2 separate regions of the Homo sapiens genome follow, and region 1 is linked to region 2. The links are contacts of gene promoters, found by promoter capture Hi-C in blood cells and fetal thymus (Javierre and others, 2016). All regions are on one chromosome and are shown on one strand. The core of a region is centred on a gene start or on the middle of the fragment in contact, and the rest is flanking DNA. Distances in the headings are between cores, read along the strand shown. Region 1 overlaps LINC01923 (long intergenic non-protein coding RNA 1923). Region 2 holds the start of PLCL1 (phospholipase C like 1 (inactive)).

What was found. The method cuts DNA at HindIII sites, captures the fragments that hold promoters and counts their contacts. A CHiCAGO score of 5 or more calls a contact.
Region 1: a fragment that was not itself captured here is called in contact with the fragment with the promoter of PLCL1 in region 2 in 8 of 17 cell types (naive CD4 T cells, total CD4 T cells, megakaryocytes and 5 more); the score reaches 8.0 in naive CD4 T cells.

What each region holds. Positions count from the first base shown.
Region 1 is chr2:198,323,247-198,327,500 of GRCh38, forward strand. All of the region lies in intron 2 of LINC01923 (long intergenic non-protein coding RNA 1923), which reads right to left. Among named protein-coding and RNA genes, the nearest start is that of LINC01923, 50 kb to the right of the region's middle. The HindIII fragment of the contact is 3,892 bases long and covers 1-3,436 here.
Region 2 is chr2:197,801,461-197,806,342 of GRCh38, forward strand. PLCL1 (phospholipase C like 1 (inactive)) reads left to right here and starts at 3,133. Exons shown (of 6, transcript NM_006226.4): 1 at 3,133-3,879. The coding sequence starts at 3,640. It overlaps LOC105373828 (a long non-coding RNA gene), which reads right to left and starts at 3,086. Exons shown (of 4, transcript XR_001739850.3): 1 at 2,249-3,086; 2 at 278-359. RefSeq lists a silencer at 3,180-3,309. The HindIII fragment of the contact is 1,428 bases long and covers 2,726-4,153 here.

The DNA.
Region 1 (4,254 bases), core at 241-2,740, 520 kb after region 2:
CTTTTAGCAGCATGAACTATTTCTGGTTTTCTCTACTTGGTAAAGCATCTGCTTTAAATTCCAGGTTGTTTGGCTTATGATTGAGATCATCTTTAATGTCACTGGGATGAACTTTAACAAATCTATAAAAACTTGTTAAAAATAGCAACAAAATTTGGTGAAATTTAGTGGGTATCCTGTGGTATTCATATACACATCATCTGTTTTTATAAGTATAAAAGTAAGATAATACCTCTGGACTTTACTCATAATTACAATATAGCCTCCTTTCATGAACAGAAGAAACATTTGCAAAATTTAGTACAGAAATTTAGGGAGGAGGCGTAGATCTATAGAAGTGGGATCTCAGAAATAGGATTATATTAAATCATTATTCTGATTTTGGTCATGTTATATTTAATTTGAAATAAGCCATTATTTTCCGTGGCATTAATAACTGGTAGTTAAGGAAAAACTGGTTATATAAATAAACTTATAAGTGCAGTTGCCTCACACCTAAGTGATAGAGCTAATCTTGAAAGAGAAAAGTGGCCCAGAGACCTCTTTGTGTGAAGTATCTCAACATATTGCTGCCTGTTATATTGTACCGAACACATGCACTTCTGTTTAGTAATATTTTGGGGAGCTGAGATTTAGGGAAGAAAAGACTGTAGCATCTTTGCAACTAATTCTAAAGTTTTATAGGGTTATTTATTTATTGGTACTGTGATGAACATGCATTATTTGTAATAACATTTTCAGTTTAACATTCCTTTTTTTATTTAACTCTGATTTTTAGACCTTCGAGTTTTTCTTTGCTTTAGCTTGGGAAAACCAAATAAGTGCAAGTTTCCTCCAAGACACCTCATGAAAACATTTTTTTTAAATAAAATCAAGAGTGAAACGAGTCTATATTTATTTGGAAGATCATCTGACTACTGCTAAATGGAGTATCTCAATCTGAAAGTGAAATCTGTTTCACTGCTAAAAATTGCCAAGAGTTTTTTGACTGAGATTTGGGAATCTGCAGAAAATGTAAAAGTTTTTTTTTTTTCTACAATAATCTGTTCAGTGAACAAGCTGTGAAAAATAGTTCTGTATTTTGTCCATGTGATGCAGCAGACGGTAAATTTCCATTTTAAAGAACGATATGAGTAGCTTCTGGCACCCATATCTATTGCCTTACTCGAATCTACTTACACTGAGTTACAACAATGCAGTTTATTATTTCTTTAAAGCAAAAAATAACAAGAGATCTTATATTCTTTTTTTTTCTACCATAGCTCAGCTCTATTCCTCTATCTGGGATCAGAAATGTGAGGGCACTCTGAGGCCTTATCAAATATGCCTTAAAATACCACATAATAGTAAGAAGATACTATTTCCCTGCATTTAATACTTTGCATTTGAAGAGCTTTAAACAATTTACTATTTCTTTCTAAACATATTTTTTGAAGTAGGTTGTCCCGTAATGAATAGTTACTGTAAACTCTTTAAGGATAATTTTTTAAAAAGTATAATTATGATTCTTATACAAACATAAGATGAACATGTGTTAAAGATTTTATTACATTAATTAATGAGGAAAGCAGTAAGATGTTACCTACTCAAAAAAGGATTCAAATTCACATCTACACACATACAGGCAGATAAACAATGCTGAAATGAATTTACAAATAGAAGCAAAATGGATCAATATATGAGGCAATAATGAATTGCATTCTACAGGTCATACCTTATTTGTATTTCTATGAACAAGAATGATTTGCATTATTATTAATTTTCTATAAGTCACAGAGATAGAAAATAACTCAAAGACAACAAAAGGTAGGGATGGCCCAGAAGGGTGTACTAGACAGGATACCTAATAATCTTTTTGGGTTTATCTCAGTTTTACCCAATTTTTACCTAAAGATCCAATTAAAAAGTACTTGTCACTTTTCCCACTGAAATTAATAAATTTTGTTTTCTGATTCACATTTCCCTTTTAAATCAAGTGCCTAGAACAATGTCTGACACATCGTGGTTGATATATATTTGCTGAATAGATGAAATTTTTGTTGTGTCTCCTACTGAACATTTTCCTAATAACCCAGTGGTAGAAATGAGTATGTTATTTTGTCTGCAGATCTCAAGCATGCCAGAAAGATTCTGAAAGAAACTTGGGGCAGCTTTTAAGGTTTTGGTACATATCTTTCTTTCGCCTTTGATCTTTAGAGTCAATGATGCATCAACTAAGGGAGTATGAGAAAAATAAAAGAAAACCATGAGTCAAATGTCCACTGTATTTCCAGTCCTCCATGGCAGAGATATAAACTCAGGTGGGTGAAACTAACATCAGTCTGGCTGTTGGGTGAGTCATCTCTGAGGGCAAGAAATCTTACCTCTCTGAGAACAATAGTGTACCACGCTGGCTTATTGCAAATCATATGCTTATTGTGACTTGGATTTTGATAATGTTAGATTGTCCTGGAGTTTATTTTTGTTCAGACTCAATTTATTTCAACTAAATGATGACCTAGGAAGTATGGTTTCAGGCTTAGCAGAAGGGTTCTGATGCCCGTATAATCCTTTTCTTCCTAATTTGTCTGATGCCTAAAATTCTGCCATTATTATCCCATCTCTTTATCACACTGTGACTTATCAGCTGCAATGATTCCAATTATGTATGTACACATTTTCTTTGGAGAGGCAAAAATTCTTGATGTTTTCAGTTTCCACACTTCATTGGGAAGAACAATTAAAGATCAGGTTGTGATTTGTTGTCCTATTAAGATTTTGAAATAAGTATGTAAGACAACTGGGTGCCAAAGGTGTATGACAGGTCAGAGAAAGGTGAAGTCAGGAATGAGAAAGTACTACAGGACTGAGGTCACTTTCTTCAACAGACTGATGGCACTAACCCTCTTCTTGCTGATATCTCTAAAATATTTTATGCAAAAAATACTGTGTCAGCAGCAGCATCACAAAAGCGGAGGGTATTCTTTTTACCATGGAAAAACTGAAAGGTTTTCATAACTAGCTATTTTGAGTCTTTAGTCATTGAAATACTTTGTTATTTATTAAAAAGTTGGTGACCTTCTGATAGCTTATCACACCGATCACTGGTTTATGGCACACCTAAGATTCTCTTATAGTTTACAAGGTATTTTCATATACATTATCTCATTTAATCTTTATAATAATCCAGTAGTCCCTGGCTGTGAAAAGTGAACTTTGACTCCAAAAGTGTTTTTTTCTCACTCAAGGCAGGCTGTCCTGGGTGAAATAAATGACTGTAACATAATCGTTTTGTTCTCATCAACTATATGAATGGTAGAAGTTGATTACCACAAATTATTTTTGTTGTGGTAGCCCATATCCTGCATGAAGATAATAAAAAAAGAAAAAAAACTCTGCAGTCACAGCCTGATTCATCTGCCATTTATAGGTGTGGTTTAGTCTTTCCTTCCTCTCAAGCTTTTCTGTTACCACTGAAAAAATTAGTTCTATAAACACTTCAAGTCTTGACTCACTGTCACTTTGCACTTTGTCATCCAATATTTTCAGATACAATAAAATTTGTATGAGAGAATCCTGGAACATAGGTTATTCATTATTCTCATCTGTAACTCTCTATTAAAGCAGTAGGAGTTTTGGAATGATATTTGGACTTTGTAAATAATGTAAAGGTAAGCATAAGTGATCTTCTGATAGTTCTTACTCTAAATAGCCAGTGTAACTTTAAACAAGTGACTTACTTTTCTGAAGTGAAAAGAATAATACTCTCAGTTTAGAGCATAAAAGTATTGTGAGGAGTAAGGGCAGTGAAGTATTCTTAGTTAAAATATGTCATTTAAATGTAAAGCATTATTACTATGAAAAGGAATAAGGGACATGAGTTATGTTATGATTAAATTTGCTTTTAAACTCTTGAACCTGAAAGGCCAAAGAAGTCTGTATTTCTGTATCATTGTGTATCCAATAGCTATCTGTCTCAAAAGTGACTTTGAATGGATTTTTATTAAATGAGTGAATAAATTTTATTACATTCTCAACTGGCTTTATTTAGTAGACAGTTTTACAAATTTGAATGGCTCAAGCATGGAGTGAAATAATTTAGGTGTATCCTTAAACAACAGCAGTGAATTCAAATTTGTATGTACTAATTAAAATTCTAGTTTGGAAAATCATTAACTTTAATGTATCTCAAAACACCTTCCTCTGCCCACTCTTTTCTTACAATACATTTTTTATTTTAGATTTTGTCTTATCTACATTGATTCTAACATTTGT
Region 2 (4,882 bases), core at 1,883-4,382:
ACTGCTAGAACTTGCTTAGTTCTTATTGGTTGTATTTCAGTCTAATTCTAGATTTCAAGTCATTCCAATTAATAAGTGCCCTTCTTCTGAGATTTGTAGCTGCTTGGTGTGGATCTGTTCTGATTTCTGCTCTAAAATGGAATTCTAGGATCCTTGAGGATGAGAAGTTCTACCATGCAGACAGTGACAGAACCATTTTTCTTTATCAGATTGATTATTTTATTTAGTCACAGGACTGCAAAAGTCCTCTGTCCATAAATATTTATTGAGCACTTACTCTGTTCCAGACATAGTTCTGGGAGCTGGAGATACAGCAATGAATAAAATCGCAAGGTCTTTAGGCACATGGAGATGGCATTCTACATTTCAGTGAAGCAGAGATAGGGGGAAAGTAAAACAGAATATGTAAGTAAACAATTCCACGGAAAAGACAGTTTGTTCACAGTGATAAAATCCTGTGAGAAGACAAAACACAATATGACTGACATGTACTGAGGCTTGTAGGGGCAACTTGAGATTTGTAGTTAGAGAGTCCTTTCTGACGTAGTAACATTTGAATTTCCTGCTCGTTACTATTATTCATATCTTACCTTCCTACCCCTGCTCACCCCCAAATTCCAATCTGCCAATCTAGCAATTGTCACCATGACTTGGTAAAAGGTTGGGAGGCAAGAATTGTAGGTGACAGCTATTTGGAAAGAGGGACTGTTAATGCAGGGGTAGGAATGTGCCCATGGCTGCTGACTTAACTGAAACTAGCTAGTCTCTTTCAGTTTTTGAAGTGGGTCCACAAAGCAGAATCTGCTCCTGGCTAGGAGCAAGTACATAGGAGGGGTTTTTTTTTTTTCAATTGCAAACATGAGTATCAGGAAAAGCCTTCTGAGCTTATGCTGGAACACAACAATATAAACGACTTGCTAGATTAGGGTCCAACTAGTTTATCAAAGCAGAGTAATTTAGACAACAATCTTTACGGATAGAGGCTCAGAGCAAAGGAATCAGAGGGGTGTGTGTGTGTGTGTGTGTGCACTTTCACATGAGGGTGAGAGGGAAGGATGCCAAGGAAGAGAAAAGAGTCCAACTAGACATTGTCTAGTTGAAAGATACAACATTTTGCAAGTTATATGCTGTACTTTCTGGCCTCTGTTTTTTTTTAAATCACTGACCTTGAATGTTTGTTAATAAAGTGATGCTAATTTTAAAATTTGTAAAAATAAATTATTATCATAATGGTACACAAATCTGTAGGATGAGGAACTTATAAATGACATTAATATCCTATAACAAGATAATGAGTGAGATAAAGGCAGTTTTACATTTTTCAGAGGACAACCGAAGAATGGGACTTTTATTAGAGTAACAAAGAAAAATGAAGCACTGACAACTGTAAATGACAGAAGTCAAATGTAATAATAGTTGAATATCAAAGAAAAAAATGATAGCCTAAAATAAGATATATTTCTGAGGATAGCAATTAAAAATATTTCCTATATAGCATAGACAGGAATTCCCTGAACTAAAGGAGATGGAAGACATGTATGGTTGTTTTAAGTCTGGGTACACTTTATTTTCTTCCTCTAGTCTGTGCGTTGTAAAGGCATACCTGTTGAAAAGGAAACTTTTGTTGGGTTACCCCTCCTGTCTTTTAAAGATGAGGGGGAAAAAGAAGCCTTTGCTGTTATGGATGCAGTTCTCAGAATCTCACTAGAGGGTGGTGTTGGTTCTAAAACCAGAGGTCACTGCTACTCTCTACAGTACATTCATTACTAGGCTGCATTTATGTTTAAAGAAAAGGCAAAGTCAAGCCTTCTCAGTATTCCCTAGTAGTTGATAAATGTCAAATCTGAAACCTCCCAAGTGCCCCTGCCAGTTCTGGCTGGTTGTAGCCCAGAGGAGACAGATAAAGTAGTGAAGAGATTATCGGAGGAGTTGGGTGGCTGATTCTAATTTTGGCTCCTGCACTAACTAGTAGACAAGACTCCCTGGGCCTTTGTCTCAACCGTAAAACAAAAATGATGTCCTAGTTGATCCCTAAATCCCCATATATCTCTAAAATTATGAGATTCAAACCAAATTGTTGGTCTAAAATGCTGAATAATTTCTCATGCTGTTAGCCAGACTAAGGAACAAGTAAAATCTCAAATTATTAAATTATTAATAAGATAAAATGTAATGTTATAAGTGAGGTTTAATATAGATTCTAATATCAAAGGAGTTTAAAATTAAAATGCCAAGTCTTTTGTCTTACCAGGGAGCCTTAGGACCATGGTTTGCATCTGAGCATTCTGTGGATAATTTCAGTGACTTAACTCATCATCCAAAGATCTCTCCCTTCTTGGTTGCTAGCTTACTGGAAATGAGCAAAATATGTTTTTATATAGGATTATATAGAGAAAGGAGGCTGAACCATTGTCAAATAGGAATGTTTTAGGATAGAGACTAAACTCCCCACCTGCATTTATCTGACTTGGATTATATCTGTGCTTTTTAAGAGTCAGTCTTCGGAGGGATTTAGTTGGTTCAGTTTCCTTTCACCCTCATCTCTTTCACTGACTCCCTTTCCTTGTTATATTTACTCACACTGCAGAATGACCTTAGAATCCTTTCCTGGAACCTGAAGCAAATTATGGAACCCCAAGATCCCAGTAAACCCTAGTTTATCTCTGCATGGACTTGACTTCTAAGAATTGGCCTGAGAGCCTGCAATTAACCTGTGACCACGCAAAGCTTCACCCCGTCACCCCAAACGCTTAGACATTCATACTCAATACCCACTTTCCTCCAAATTGCTTTGTTTGGCAGAAGAAGGTTTCTTTCTCCCCTCTCCTTCACCCAACCTGGATTTTTGTTGCATCTCAGGCTCATTTCGCAAATCTAAACTTCCTAAAATATACACGGAGCGCCTCCGGGTTTGCACACGCGCGCGCGCGGGTACACCCTGGCTCGAGTACATTAGCCCCGCTGGGCCGGCTCCCAGTTGCAGAACACATTCCATTCTTCGCGCTCGGGCACACCCCTCCGCAGTGAGGATTGGTCGGGCCGAGCCCCCTCGGCGAGGCGAGGCTCCTAAGAGGCCCAGACGCCTGCCAATCCCCAAGGGCTGTCAAAACAAGTCTCCCTCCCTGTCACAACAGAGCTGAGTGGAGGCCGCCGCCGCCGCCGCACTTCCTGGGACCGCTGCGCCGCAGTCCGCGGGCAGGTGGCGGGTGCGCCCGGCCGCAGTCGCCCGGCTCTGGCCCCTATCGGGCCGCCGGCGTCCGGGCTCCAGAGGCCGCCTGGCTGGGCGCCCGGTGCCTTTTGTCTGGCGCAGGGCCGGCGTTTGCATCACATTTCGGATACCTCCCTCTCTTTTTCGCCTCTCCTTCTGCCTCCCGCTCACATCGCCTCCCCACTCCCGCCACCGTCCCCCGCCGGACTGCTAGCCTCCTAGACCGAAGCCCGAGGACGTCTCTGCCCGAGCGATGTCCCCTCTCCAGAAAGTTGCCGCCGCCGCCGCCGCCGCCGCCACTGCCGCCGCTGGGCGGTGAAACAAAGTCTGGCGGGGCCGCCTCCCGGTGCAGGAGCGCACCGGTGCCTAGCGGCTGGACTCCGCTGCCGGGCGTCCCGCTTTCCCCCGGGGAGCCCTAAACGCTCCAGGCCATGGCCGAGGGCGCGGCCGGCAGGGAGGATCCGGCGCCGCCCGACGCGGCGGGGGGCGAAGACGACCCCCGAGTGGGCCCGGATGCCGCCGGGGACTGCGTGACGGCGGCCTCTGGGGGCCGGATGAGGGACCGTCGCAGCGGGGTCGCACTGCCAGGCGCCGCGGGGACCCCAGCGGACAGCGAGGCGGGCCTCCTGGAGGCAGCACGGGCGACCCCCCGGCGCAGCAGCATCATCAAGGTAAGCAAAGCCGCGCCGCACCGGGAGCGTGGCTGTGGGTGATGGGTGGGTCAGGGACCCGGGCAGGATGTGCGGTGTCCGGAGGCATCCGGGCTCAGCATTGTTTTCTCCCACCTCCTTCAACGCCAAACCTTCCTTCCTTATCCGGAGGTTCCCAGACTCAGCTGTCAGCCACGAGACGCACAAGTGACTTTTTCTCCCCACTGACGGCAGAGGAAAAGTTCCGCTCTGCGTCTTTGCGTTCTGATGGATGCTTTCCCTCATTTTCTCTGCAAGCTTCACTAAACCGTTGATGGAGGGAGGAAGGGAGAACTCTGGATAAATGCAGACCCACCGGATGGTTGTGCATTGCTTTCCAATGAAGGGTTAGCTTTTCCCATACAATGAAGAAAATGCACAGCTTACTCTCAAGTGTAAAAAAAGAATCCCTCTAGACTTAAATGATCCCGAAATCCCAAGATGTGTGAACTTTCCCGGTAGGGAGGCAGAGTTTTAAGTGGACCCTGCATCACAGTAAAGAGCAATGCAAGAGCCCAGAGTTTTTGCGCTGCAGAAAGCACAACCGGAAAGCAATCAATCCCCCAAGCATTATCACTGGTCCTTGTGGTTACCACCACATCCAGGGAAAACGCTTCCTGACCCGCTAATCACCTCACAGAATTTCTCTCCATCCATTTGGCAAGGAATTTGTAAACCTCTTTCCTCCCCTTTCTCTTTCCATCTTCCTTCCACTTGGGGCTTGTTTCTTCTGTTCGAGATTTCCTCTTTTGGGAGCATGACTTTGGGGTAAGGTTATTTAGGAAAGAACCCTCGCACAGGCTCTGGAAAAGGGCCTCAGTGTAAATGCATGTGAGTAATCAATCAAATGTATGTCAGATTAAAATTGATTTTGGTGGAGCAGTCAGTATAAAACGATATGTATGTATGTATATATGTAAGTATATATGTGTGTGTGTACATACACACACACACATCCCTCAATGACAATGAAAGATGGACTTTT